3 separate regions of the Homo sapiens genome follow, and all the other regions are linked to region 3. Evidence: promoter capture Hi-C in 16 types of primary human blood cells and fetal thymus (Javierre and others, 2016). All regions are on one chromosome and are shown on one strand. The core of a region is centred on a gene start or on the middle of the fragment in contact, and the rest is flanking DNA. Distances in the headings are between cores, read along the strand shown. Region 1 holds the start of GAREM2 (GRB2 associated regulator of MAPK1 subtype 2). Region 2 overlaps DNMT3A (DNA methyltransferase 3 alpha). Region 3 holds the start of DTNB (dystrobrevin beta).

Region 1 (4,065 bases), core at 395-2,894, 500 kb before region 3:
TCTGACCAGACATTCACACCCTGATGGTGACCCAGCCATAGCCACACACTGTCACACACAACAGACAGCTGGGCCATCACACCAGTTGTTCATTCACTCACCCATTCATTCAATCCATAATCTTTATTGGGCAAGGATGCCTGGTCTCAAGGAGCCCACAGCCAGGTCTAAAGACAATAAACTGACTGACCATTATAATGGGGTGCACAGTAGGAGACAAGCCAGAGTTGGCATGAGGTGGCCGGGGAGCCCAAAGGAGGCCCTACGCAGACCGAGGAGCTCAGAAAAGCTGCCCAGAAAGGGGAGATGCCAAAAAGGATGTGTGGGAAGTGGCCAGAAGACCCCAGGGCAGCGACCTCCATTCACAGGCAGACACAGTACCACACTCTGACCACTCGGCCGCGAGCCAGAGAACTAGACGCTGGCCTGCCCGACGGCGGGGCGCCGATGCTCCCCCATGAGCCTGCTCCCGGGACAGCTGACGCCCACTGTGCCCACTCCTGGCCGCCACGGAGGAGGGGCTGCCGGGCCCCACGGGGAGACGAGGAGCCTGCGGCCGCGGGCCCCATTAGCATTCATGGAAGCGAGTGTGCCAACGCGGGCCAAACCCCTATTCTTCTCACACACAAAACCCCCGGCCTGGCTGCCAGCCCCGGCTACCGCCCATCCCCCAACCAAGCAGCACCCCCCTCCCCCCAAACGGTCCCCTCGCTCCATGCAGCCTCCGGGCGTACCCTCTCGGGCCCCCATGCGTGGTTCCATCAGCCGAGCGGCTGGGGGCCCCAGGTCCTATTAAGAAGTGGGACAAGATTCGGGGGAGGGCCGGGAGTTTGGGGGTCACGCCGGGCAGCAGACCCGGCTCCCGCCGGCCTCTCCCGAAGGTGGCCTGCCCGCCCCAGGACCGAGGCTGCTCCTAGGGAAGAGAAAGGAGGTGCAAGAAGGGTCCCCAGAGGGGCGGAGCAGGACTAGGGGTGGCGGTAAGGGGAAGACAGAGTCCGGGTCCCAGGGATGAGGGAAGACAGAGGTGAGAGGCCAGGGACAAAGGGACCAAGGGGGCGCGGCCGGGGCGGGGGGCCCAGGGGCAGCGGGGGAAAGGGGGGCAACCGACGGGGCGGGAGCAGGGGCTCGGCCCCTTTCCGGACTCCAGCTGGGCGGGAAAACTCTGTCCCGGGCCCTGTCCCCGGTGTCTGTGCCTGTGCTTGTCCGCGGGGCCCAGGAGGCGGACCTGGCGGGTGGGCCCCGCGTCTCCCGGGAGGCGCGCCAGGAACCGCTCGGGGCCCACGCCGGGGAGCTGGGAGGGTGCGGGTGCCGCACCCTCCTCACGATCCCTCTGGCCCCTGGCTGGAGAGCCCACCATTTCCCCGCGGACCCCGGTCCCCATCTCCAGCGACCCCGGTACCTGGCCCAAGGCAGGCGAGCGTGGGCAGGCGGCAGCGGCTGACGATGAGGTCGAGCGGGAAGGCGCCCATGCTCCAGCGCAGGCCGGCCAGCCCGGCCGCCAGCTTCTCCATGGCATGGGCGCCCCGGGGCCGCCGTCCCGGGGCCCCGACGGTCAGTCCCGCGCGGCCCAGGCTCTCGCGCCCGCCGCCACCTCCCGGGGCCGCCGCGGCGCTCGCCGCCTGGCAGCCCCGCCGGGCCGCGGGCGTCACGTGGCCGGCCTCCCCGCAGGGCGCCGACCCCGGCCCCGCCCCCGGGCCCCGCCCCCTCCTCCCGGACCCCGGCCCCCTCCTCCCGGACCCCCGCCCCCTGCTCTGTCCGCCCCGACCCGGACTCGCCGCCGGACCCACCCCCGGACCTCCGCCCCCAGCCCTGTCCGCCCTGCCCCGCCCCGGCCCCCTCTCCTCGGACCCCGTCCCCGCGCCCCCTTCTGGGACCCCGGGTCCCCAGCCCCGCGCTCCGTCCGCCCGCCCCTGCCCCCGCTCCCCGGCCCCCACCCGCCGCTGCCGCCAAGCCCCGCCTCCCCTCCCGCCAGCTTCCCCGCGCCCAGGTGACGGCGGGTGATGGAGGACCCCAGGGCGGGCGCCTGGAGGGACAACGAAGTCCCGAGCGGCATCTGCGGAGTCGGCGCGGGGTCGGCCTCCTCCTTCTGGCTGGGTGTGTCCGGGCCCCGCCGCTCCCCCTCGTGCTGGCCTCCCGGAGGCCGCGCCCACCCGCGCCCTGTCCTGCTCCGCCGCCCAAAGCTCGGGTTCTGAATTCTGCTCTTCCAGGACCTTCATCACCTCCGGCTCCGTGGAGCTGGGCGAGGCAGCCTCCTTAACCCCATTTTACTGATGAGCAAACTGAGGGGCAGAGGTCAGGTGGCAGCCAGGACTTCAACCTAGGTTGGACTTCAACCCAGATTTGACTCCAACCCTACTGCCCAAGAGCACCCTACAGCGCCCCACCATAGAGCACCTTCCACGTTCCCAGCGCCCCCTTAGCCGATAGCCCTGTGTCATGTAAACCGGCGCTCCAACCCTTCCACAGCACGCGGTGTGGACTGCGTCCATTCTGCAGATGAGGAGGCCGAGGTTCGAGGGCGTAACCGGTGCTGCGGTCTCCTCTCGGATCATTACAAGAACCGCCTTCCTCCCCCACCGCCACCATCCCTTCTCTCTTTTCCTTCTCTTTTTTTGAGACTGGGTCTCACTCTATCACCCAGCCTGGAGTGCAGTGGCGCGATCTCGGCTCACTGCAACCCCCACCTCCCGGGCTCAAGCGATCCTCCCACCTCAGCCTGCGGAGTAGCTGGGATGACAGGCACCTGCCACCACTCCTGGCTAATTTTTTTGTATTTTTAGTAGAGACGGCGTTTCACCATGTTGGCCAGGCTGGTCTTGAACTCCTGACCTCAAGCGATCCTCCCGACTCGGCCTCCCAAAGTGCTGGACTTACAGGCGTAAGCCACCGCGCCCAGCCTTCGTTCCCTTCTTTTAATTTGCGTTTCCTTTTCTGCTGTCCTCACCTCTTCCTTCCAAGCCCCCTGGACTCCAGCTCGGGGCCTCCCTTTGGGACCCCCTTCCCAGAAGCTTAGATGGCCTCGGCCTCGGCCTCGCCCTCTCTGTGTCTGCGGCGCCCTCTGCAGGTAATTGGGGGATGATGCGGGCCTGGCTGATCTCGCGGAGCCAGCGGGCCTTAGTCCCTAGGCTGCTCCCTCACGGGAGTGTAGTGGCACGATCTCGGCTCACTGCAACCTCCGCCCCGCAGGTTCAAGCAATTCTCCTGCCTCAGCTTCCTGAGTAGCTGGAATTACATATGTAGCTGGGATTACAGACAAGCACCACCATGCCCGGCTAATTTTTCACCTGGCTAATTTTTGTATTTTTAGTAGAGACAGGGTTTCGCCATGTTGGCCAGGCTGGTCTCGAACTCCGAACTCAAGTGATCCACCCGCCTCGATCCATCAGTCCTCAGCCTCGGTACCCCCGGAAGAACCCCACCAAATACAAACAAAACCCTCTCTTCTGAGGTGACTGACACCTGGCATCTTATGGCTCGAACCCCATGAGAAATGGCAGCCGACAAGATGAACACCACTTCTCAGCGAGAAGAGACGTTTTAGATCAGTGGTTCAATCCTCAACTGCTGCAGAGGAAAAAACTGAGACTCCAAGAGCAGAAATGCTTTGCTCTAAGGTCACACGGCAAGAAAGAGGCAGCGCTGCGACCAGAAGGCAGGACCCCCACCTACCAACTTGACCGAGGCCCTTCCCCAGCCTGGCCCAAACCCAGCCCGCTCACCCTGGCCAGGGAGGAGCTGCTCACCCCGGTGACTCAGGCAGCCCAGATGGACTCCGCTCTCCTGAGTCTGTAGGGGTGGGGTGGGTTCTTTCCCAGGGAAGTGGGAAGGTGAAGCCTGGCAGGAGAAGAAAAGAAAATACAGTGAAAATATAGGAGTCTTAAGAAGGGAATGGGCCAGGCGCGGTGGCTCACACCTGTAATCTCAACAGTTTGGCAGGCCAAGGCAGGTGGATCACTTGAGGTCAGGAGTTCGAGACCAGCCTGGCCAACATGGTGAAACCCTGTCTCTACTAAAAATACAAAAATTATCCAGGCAAAAAATTAGCCGGGCATGGTGGTGCTTGTC
Region 2 (4,492 bases), core at 724-3,223, 340 kb after region 3:
AAGGGGTGTCTAGGAACTTGCTTGGCACGTGGGTTCAACTCTGATCTAGGGGTCCCTGAGCAGGTGGTGATCACCCAGATGATGGGGTGGAGAGGTGAGGTGGGGGCAAATACAAGTTCCTCTGTCTGCAGTCGTCTTGCTACCCCAGGAAGCTCAGGGCTGGTTGCTTAGCAACAGCACTTACCACCCTCTTCCACCTTACCCTCCCGCACCCCACCCATGGGTGCCTCTTGGGGCTTCCCTTCCCCCGAGGCTGCCCCTGTTCAATAGGACATGGGAAGGGTCTGTGCACTTTTTTGACCCTGCCCCTGGAATAAGGCAGGAACAGACATAAAAGGACCTATGACTTGGAGGCAAGCACAGAACTGGCCCCTCTACAAACCAGCTGTTTAATCCAAGGCTGGTAGGGGACAGATGTGCAGGGCAAAAAAGGCGTTCGGGAGTCAGGCCGACCTGGAGGACTGTCTCAGCCCCATTTGTGCTCAGTTGCTGCTGGCCCCAAACCACCTGGAGCTGCAGGTTTTTCATCTGTAAATCGGGGATAAGAATAGCAGTCTCATCTTACAGGGGTTGCCTGAATGACGTGCAATATTTTGTGAAACAGCTAGCACTATGCCTGGCACAGAGAAGGTGCTCAGGAGGCATGAGCTGCTTTTCTTTACGTGGGGGTTGTTCCAGGGCTGCCTGGTTAGGGTGACCCCCACAAAGCCCTGCTGCTCTGTAAGGCCCTGCTGCTCTGTAAGACCCTGCAAGTGGCCAGGTGCAGTGGCTCACGCCTGTAATCCCAGCGCTTTGGGAGGCCGAGGCGGGTGGATCATCTGAGGTGAGGAGTTCGAGACCAGCCTGGCCAACATGGTGAAACCACCTCTCTACTAAAAATACAAAAATTTAGCTGGGTGTGATGGTGCACGCCTGTAATCCCAGCTACTCCGGAGGCTGAGGCAGGAGAATCACTTGAACCCGGGAGGTGGAGGTTGCAGTGAGCCGAGATCGCGCCACTGCACTCCAGCCTGGGCGACAGAGTGAGACTTCGTCTCAAAAGAAAAAAAAAAAAAAGACCTGCAAGTGTGGCCTGTCCTCCCCATGGCCCCTCACGGTGAGGGGAAGAGATAATCAAGTTGAGAATGACCCCCAAGCCCATGGTGGACTCTGGGCTGGGAGTCAGGGGCCACAGGGGAGTGGCAGGGATAGAGAAAGATGTCTCTGTCCTCCTTAGCTTCCGTTATCTGACCCAGGTCCCTTTTTCCAGCTGCCAATAAGTTGTCCCTTTTTCTCTTAGCCTTTCTGCACCTCCACTTCTTCCTGTGAAGCCAGGATTTGCCTGTACCTTTTTTGATCTCTTCAGAGTCCCCTGTCCATGTGGGGACCCAGTAGCCTGCTCAAGGCCTGGGCCCTCTTTCCCTCCCTGCCCACTGGTCTCTTTGGAGCTAAGCGGAGAGTGGCCTTTGCTGGGTTCTGGCTCTGCCCCACGGCCTGGAGGCAGGGGAGGGTCTAGACCACAGCCCGGCCTGGCAGCTGGCACGCAGCAAGGGCTCCTAATGGTTTTATTACCAGCAACAATGTGGTGCTTGTTGCCATCCACGCACAGGCTGGTGGTTCCCAGCCCAACTGGTGGTGGCCTGAGGGCCCTGCCTGGTACTGGAAGCTCAGCTGGGAAGCCCAGTGGGGCTGGGCAGTCAGTCACCTCTGCGTTTTCTTCTGTCAACACCCTGCCAGCAGCCTGGAATCAGAGGGAGCCAGGGCACGGCATGGCGAGATGCTGGCCCCCGAGTTGGCAGGCCTGGCAGCACTTGAGTTTTCTTTCCAGAGGTCCCTGCCTCAGATCCACAAATGATGTTCATCCATTCATCTAAGAGACCTACTGTGTGCCAGACACAGGCTGCATAGATGAAGGGGGTCACACTCATCTCAATGACCCTGCAGCTTAGGTGGGGTCTGGCAGGGCGGAAGGACCCCTGGCACACCATGTCCAGGGATTACCAGGGCTCAGAGAAGGAAGTCGGATTCAGGGGGAGAGAAGATCTGGAAGGGCTTTCTAAAGGAGGTGACGCTTGAGCTGAGTCTCGAAGCGGAGGGAGCAGTTAGCTAGGTGGACGACGGCACTTTCTGGCCCCATGTGGCTGCAGTGTAGGGAACGATGGGATACGAAGCCAGGGGCCTGGGCCGGGGGACATGGAAGGCGGGATGTTATGAACGGACGTTGGGCTTGGGATTTATATTTGAGAAGGATCATTCTAGGGCATCGAGGACGAGAGCTCGGGCAATAGGGTTTAGGGGCAGGGAGCCCGGGTGGAAGGCTGGCACAGAAGTCCGGGGCAGCAATGTGGGCCTGGACAGGGTGTGCGTGGTGTGACATTTAGGAAGTGCAGTCAGTAGGAACAGGCGGGATAAAAGCAATGAGGGGAGTTGGGGTGGCTGTCTGGTTTCTAGCTCAGCCAACTGTGTGGGTGGGGATGCCCTTCATGGAGGGGGCATGGGTTGGGGGGAGTCGGAGAGAGCAGGAGGTGCCTCCCACATGGAGCTGGGTTGTAGCTGGGGCTTGAGGGCGGGTGGGATTTCCCCAGGGGGAGGCTGAGCCAGGCCAGGCTTGCAGAAGGAGGCTGGAGCCTGAGTCATAAGGCCTGGAGGCGGGGTGCCTTGTGCGATGGATGAGAAAGGCAGGTGCATTTCAGTCTGTAACTGGTACGACCCCTGCAGATGTTTGAAGGAAGATTTTGAGGAAGGTGCTCGCACCCTTGCATTGGGAATGCTGATGAGTTAGCGCCTCTACTTCACAGTGATTTCCCCAAAAGATGAGCTGCAAGGCCTAGACCCTGGCCCTCCACCCAGGACCTGCGGCGAGCATCATCACCGTCTGAGAATCTTTGGGTGGGCTGGAAGTTGATGTCAAGCTGTCCAGCCTTTCCGTCACTCTCCATTCAGAGGCAGGTCTGCGGAGAGAGATAGGAGGGACAAGCTGGGGACAGCATTTTTGGAAAGCAAACAGAAAAGAAGCAAAAACTGTTCCTCTAAAATAGAAAGGAGGCTTATGTGTGTTATGTGAAGGATAATGTGGAAGGCTATTTCCAAAGAATTTCTCAAAAAATGACGTGAGCCATGTCAGCATCATTGAATTTAGATAGAGGCCAGGAGCAGTGTGGCATCGTGCTGGGGCCACCAGGCTGGGGACTGGACAGATGATGGTTTCACCTCACCCCTGCCACCTCCTTGCTGCGTGTCATTGGAAGATCACTCAACCTTTCTTAGGCTCAGTTTTACCATCTGTAAAATGGACATAACTTCACAGGCTGGTGTTGTTTGTTTTGAGCATTGCTTCTTGGACTAAACCTGGATATTTTTTCCTTCCCTCCCTCGCTTCTGCACTTCCTCTGGTTCTTTGCCTCCCAAGAAGCCTGTTTCCTCCTGTTCCCTCCAAAACTCCAAGTTTTGAGTTCCCCCTTCCTGGGAAGGTCCATTCGTCATGTTCTATTGACTCTCTTGTTCCCAATTATTCCCTGCAAACCTGGTTCACCCAGTGTATTTGAAGAGCATCTACTGAGCTAAATGGGAGTTATTGGGGGTCAGTTCCTGTTTTCTTTTTAATAAGGGGAGGGAGGGTCTGTGCAGAGCTGTCCGGGAGAGCAGAGGGCATGGGGGACAGGGGGGATGTTGCAGGACCCAGTGGGACCACAGCTGGGACCTTGCCCTGTAGCTGGCTCAGTGTGCCAGGGGATAGGGGCACAGAGCCCTGGTGGGTCTGGGAGATGAGCTTGGGAAGGACTTGGCCTGGACATGGGCTAGGCTGCCCTGCTTTCCGAGCCAGACCTCAGGAGATGGCAGAGAGGGCCGCTTCCTCTGTGAGGGCCGTACATGATGGCCCTTGGGCTGTATGGTGGCCTTGTGACATGCAGCCACACCCCTGGGGAGACCTTTGAAGCATCTCTGCATTCTGGAGGATCTGCTGGGAAGATGGCTTCGCAGCGGGGCTCTTGTTGATGCTGCCAAGAAGGCCGGGTGGGAGTCGGGCTGTCTCTGGCTGGGGGTGGGGTGGGGGCTGCGGTCCATCCGAGTGTGGAAATCCACGTTTCTCTGGTTTGTGCAGACCTGTGCAAGCAGCCATGCTGCAGGACTGGCCCCCTGGAAGTGGGGCATACATGAACTCAGGGTGTGGCGTTGTAATCAAATGAAATGTACAGCATAATTAATCTGGCATACCCTTAATGATATGCATAATTGTGCTGCATGGTAATTAGGTGTAAATGGTAAGCAGTTCACATAAATGTTTTTGTAATTGGTATTAATTTTGCAGAGGCAAACCAAGTTTATGTGGTTTTTCTCTTCTTGCTCTGTTAGTTTTCTAGTACAGGCATTTCCAAGCTTTTGGAGGAATTCTATTGCAAATGTTTGTTTATAGGGCAATGTTTTGTGTTTTCTCTCAGAACAATGTTATGAATGGTTATGAGGTTCCCAAGCTGGTTTCCAAATGCCTCTTTGGCCCATACAGTAGGTGAAA
Region 3 (4,283 bases), core at 1,688-4,187:
TTGAGACCAGGCTGGTCCACATGGTGAAACCCCGTCTCTAACTAAAAATATAAAAATTAGCCAGGCATGATGATGGGCATCTGTAATCCCAGCTACTCAGGAGGCTGAGGCAGGAGAATCGCGTGAACCTGGGAGGCGGAGGTTGCAGTGAGCCAAGATCGTGCCACTGCACTCCAGCCTGGGTGACAGAGCGAGACTCCGTCCCAGAACAAACAAACAAAGCTGCTGCATTAGTTTAGGGGAGGTGGGCTAAGAGGGAAAGATTCTAGTTATTTATTTATGAGGAAGCATCAATGGGACTTAGTGGTTGTTGGGTATGGAGTCAGGGCAGAGGGGTGGTGGGAGAAGAAGGAATCAAGAATGGCCCCCCAGTTTCTGAATTGGTCAACTGGGTGGACAGTAGTTTAGACATGTAGAACGTGGGGTACCTCTAGGACACCCAGGTGGAGAAGTCTGGCGGGCTTTTGTGAATAAGGAACCCAGATGAGTGGCCTGAGCTAGAGAGAGTGCACTTGGGAGTTGCTGATATGCGGTAGATAAAGAAGCGGAGTGGATGGAATGGTCCAGGGAGAATGTGTGGCGTGAGACCAGCTGAGGAGAGAATCTGTGAAACTGAGAAGTGGTCACAGGGGTTAAGACAGGAGTCATGCCATGACACCAAGGGAGTTTCAGAAAGAGTGGGCTACTCTGTTCAATGTCACTGAGAGTTCTAACAATATGAGGACTCAGAGATGGCTTGTGGTATTTAGGATCCAACAAGCCATTCATGACTGAGAGCAATGCAGTGATGTGGTGTGGACAGAAACTACATAGGTTTGAGGAGCTGAGGAGCTGCTGAGGAGGTAGAGATGAGGGTAGATGACTTTCAAGATATTTATGAAGGAAAACTCAGAGAGGGACTAGTAACTGAAGCAGAATCTAGAGGGACAGCGAAAGGGTTTCTTCCTTTTTCTTGAGGACAGGAAAAGCTTAAACATGAATAGATGATGAAGGAAAGAGACAAGTAAAGAGAAGTTGGTAATTTTGGAGTGAGAGGGGGAGAATGATTGAAAGGTGTTTGAAAAGTTTTCTGAGGATGTGGGAGGTGAAGAAATAGAGAACAGAGATGGAGAGATGCCAATACAGTGTCCTTGAAGTATTTAATTCCCTTATGGTTTAGGATTGTCTAGTCCACATATTGAAATTACCTTGGTTTCAATCAATAAACCGAACATATCAAGCGATATTTACACATTTATTTTATATTATTTACACATCTTTTCTCCAAAGAACAGAATCAATGTTTTACCCCTCTCAATGCCTTCCACATAGGGGGTGCTCAAAAAGGGCAAATAAAGAAGCTAGAGGTCTCTTACCTGTATTCTGAGTATCTTAATATGTACAAAACATAGCCAAGACCGTGCCTACAAGAGATAAGTCTCCTCAAGCATGAAAATATTCACACACTTCATATATGTAAGGTAAAAGGTAAAATGTCCATCTTTATTTATTTATTTTGAGACGGAGTCTCACTCTCTTGCCCAGACTTGGAGTACAGTGGTGCGATCTCGACTCACTGCAACCTCTGCCTCCTAGGTTCAGGCGATTCTCCTGCCTCAGCCTCCCAAGTAGCTGGGATTACGGCGTACACCACCACGCCCGGCTAATTTTTGTATTTTTAGTAGAGACAGAGTTTCGCCATGTTGGCCAGGCTGGTCTCGAACCCCTGACCTCAAGTGATCCGTCTGCCTCAGCCTCCCAAAGTGCTGGGATTACAGGCGTGAGCCTCCGCGGCAGGCCAGAAAATGCTCATCTTTTGAGGAACCTATTTGTTCCCATTTAACAAAGTTGGTTATCAGCATTTCCTTCACCATAGGAGTTTAAAAATAAAAAGAGGAGAGGAGGAGGAAGAGGGTGTTCTAAAGGCAGGCAGGCAGGCAGGCAGGCAGCAGCAGGAGGTGGCACGATCTGCCTTACCGTAAGGTGCCAAAAAGCAGTGAAAACCATACTCCCAGCATGCAGGCCTGGGGTCGCTTAGCTCTGGAGCTTACAGCCTTCATCATTGACCAATAGCCCCCAAAGGACGTTGCTGTTTTGAGTCTTAAGTAACGTTGAGAATGACCATTTGAACCATTCAAAAAGTCCTTGCTATATTCTAATTTGGCACCATCTCCTGTATTTCACAGTTTGGAAAGAATTCTATAAAAGATGGATAACAGTAAAACACAAAAAAGCTGGTGCTGAGATGGTAAACCTGGCTGCCCCGGCTCCTTTGCCCAAACTGTTTTCCCAGCCCTAATGTCCTCCCTTTTTCCTCCTAGGACTTCTTTTTCTTCCTTCGAGGTTGACCATAAATGCCGCCTCTAGCCCTCTGCGGCGTCCAAGCAGAAGTCGTCTCTAGCTTCTGTGCCAGCATCGCACCGTGGCTTGGCTCTGCACGGGTCATCGGACTTGGTTGTGTACATGGCTGTTTTCCCCGCTAAGTTTGGGGCGCCTCGAGCCCAGGCGCCGTGACCGTGATCGTGCGCCCACAGGCACCTGGTGCAGCGCGGGGCGCACGCCGCGGCTGGGCTAGCTTGCGGAGTTCACGGGGGTCACTCGGGCACAGGCTTGTGACCCAGGCGCGGAGAATGATTCACGGGGTGGCTCTTTGCATTCTTTGTCGGGTAGTCACGTCGGGCCGGGCACCCCGCCGACGGATACCTGCGGATGGAAAGACACCCGGCCCGACGCCAGCGAGCGGGAGAAGCCTGGATGGAGCCAGCTTCCCGCCTGCCCGGAACCCGCCGGCGACCGGTGGGCGGGGCGCGGCCGCGGGGGCGGGGTGGAGGGGGGTTGCTCGGCCGCTCCCGCCCCCTCCCCGCGCGCGGAAGCCACGCCCCCGGCCGCGCGCTCGCGCTGGGCGCGCGCCCGCCCATCCGCCCTCCGCCCTCCGCCCTCGCGCCCTCGCGCCGGGGGCGGGCGCTGCGCGTGCCGGGCGGAGAAGCGGCGCGAGCCGGGCGCTGCGAACGTTCGCCGCGGGGGTGGCTCCGGGGCCTGAGTAGGCGCTGCCGCTGCCTCAGCCGAGGGGGCTGGGCCGGAGCGTGCGGAGGAGTGAGGCCGCAGGAGACCTTCCCGACGACCCCTGCTCCGGCGGGGAAGTGAGCAAGGTGGGGGTCTGCGGCCGCCGCCGGGGCTGTGGGGAGACGAGCTGGGCTGGAGCCTCGCGCCCGCGAGGTGCGGGACGGCAGCTCGCGCTGCGCCGGGACTGGGGACCCGGGAGCCTGCGGGTGCGGCGCTGCAGGAGTCGGGGAGGGCGCGGGGAGCCGGGGCCGCTGCACCGCGCGCGGCTGCGAGGTGGGACGGCGCGGCTAGCCCCGGAGGGACAGGCAGAGGGGATGCGGCGGATCCCGGGCCGGGAGGGGTATCGGGGTCCGGAACGCGCCGGGGCACGGGCGCGAGCGGGGGCCCGGCGCCGGGCTGATGCTGCCCGAGCCCGGCTCGCCTGGAGGCGGCTCTGCGTTAGGTGCTGAAGGGGCGAGTGAGGCAGGTCCTGGCAGAGGGCAGGTGAGGCGGGCAGGCCCTGGCAGAGGGAAGGGTATTTATTTCAGATCACCCCAAATCACTGTTTCCCGAGGCGCCTAATAGCGAACCTGTCCAGGAGGTCACCCTGGACAGGAAAGAAGTGTCCCGAGACGAGGATGCCGGTGACGAATACTTGCCCTTAAATTCCTGTGCCAGGCCTTGGGATTAGGAAGACCTTCCAGCTACCGTAGGTAGAGACCCGTAGTCAGCACTGGGGCCACGAAATAGTATGGAACACCGTCATGTTATTGAGGTGCTGACAGTGTGGCTGTGAAGATATGCACATGAAATACAAAGGAGCGTCGAATTTTATGTCGCATGCCCTATTTACTTTCGGTCTCTTTTGTCTTTTCCCAGTATTGGGAAATTGGAGCCATAAATTGCGTGGTTTTGGGGATAAAGCAGAAAGGTCAAAAGAAGCCTATGGGAGAAATTTGGGAGAGTTTTGAAGGCTCCTACGGGTAACATTTAAAGGGGGCTCTTAGATGGGGAAAAAAGACGTTTGGAAAGAAAGGAAGTTTCCTTCCTTCCCATCTAGAAATAAGCTCCATGACTATTGACTGCTAAATCTTCAGAATGTTGCCTGGCTCACAGCGGTTGAGCCATAAGTGTCTATTGCATGAATGAATGGACAAGCAAGGTTTGGCCACATTTGCCATGGAGCAGTGTCAGTCACTCTAGTGTTAGGGAAGGTTGCTGGATTTCTCCTGTTCCACAAGTTCTCTCTCTCTGCCTCTTTT

Evidence for each region. Contacts are between HindIII fragments. The CHiCAGO score rates a contact against its expected background, and 5 or more counts as called.
Region 1: a contact is called between the fragment with the promoter of GAREM2 here and the fragment with the promoter of DTNB in region 3, in 6 of 17 cell types (naive CD8 T cells, total CD4 T cells, non-activated CD4 T cells and 3 more). The highest score is 9.0, in naive CD8 T cells.
Region 2: a contact is called between a fragment that was not itself captured here and the fragment with the promoter of DTNB in region 3, in 1 of 17 cell types (erythroblasts). The highest score is 5.1, in erythroblasts.

Annotation. Positions count from the first base shown.
Region 1 is chr2:26,170,667-26,174,731 of GRCh38, reverse strand. GAREM2 (GRB2 associated regulator of MAPK1 subtype 2) reads right to left here and starts at 1,644. Exons shown (of 6, transcript NM_001168241.2): 1 at 1,400-1,644. The coding sequence starts at 1,511. The HindIII fragment of the contact is 3,276 bases long and covers 1-3,010 here.
Region 2 is chr2:25,329,893-25,334,384 of GRCh38, reverse strand. The region is part of intron 1 of DNMT3A (DNA methyltransferase 3 alpha); the gene reads left to right. Among named protein-coding and RNA genes, the nearest start is that of MIR1301, 3.4 kb to the right of the region's middle. RefSeq lists enhancers at 1-111, 3,359-3,859, 3,860-4,360. The HindIII fragment of the contact is 4,771 bases long and covers 1-4,358 here.
Region 3 is chr2:25,672,231-25,676,513 of GRCh38, reverse strand. It overlaps DTNB (dystrobrevin beta), which reads left to right and starts at 2,937. Exons shown (of 21, transcript NM_021907.5): 1 at 2,937-3,128. RefSeq lists an enhancer at 542-751 and silencers at 2,900-3,194, 2,559-3,488. The HindIII fragment of the contact is 7,823 bases long and covers 971-4,283 here.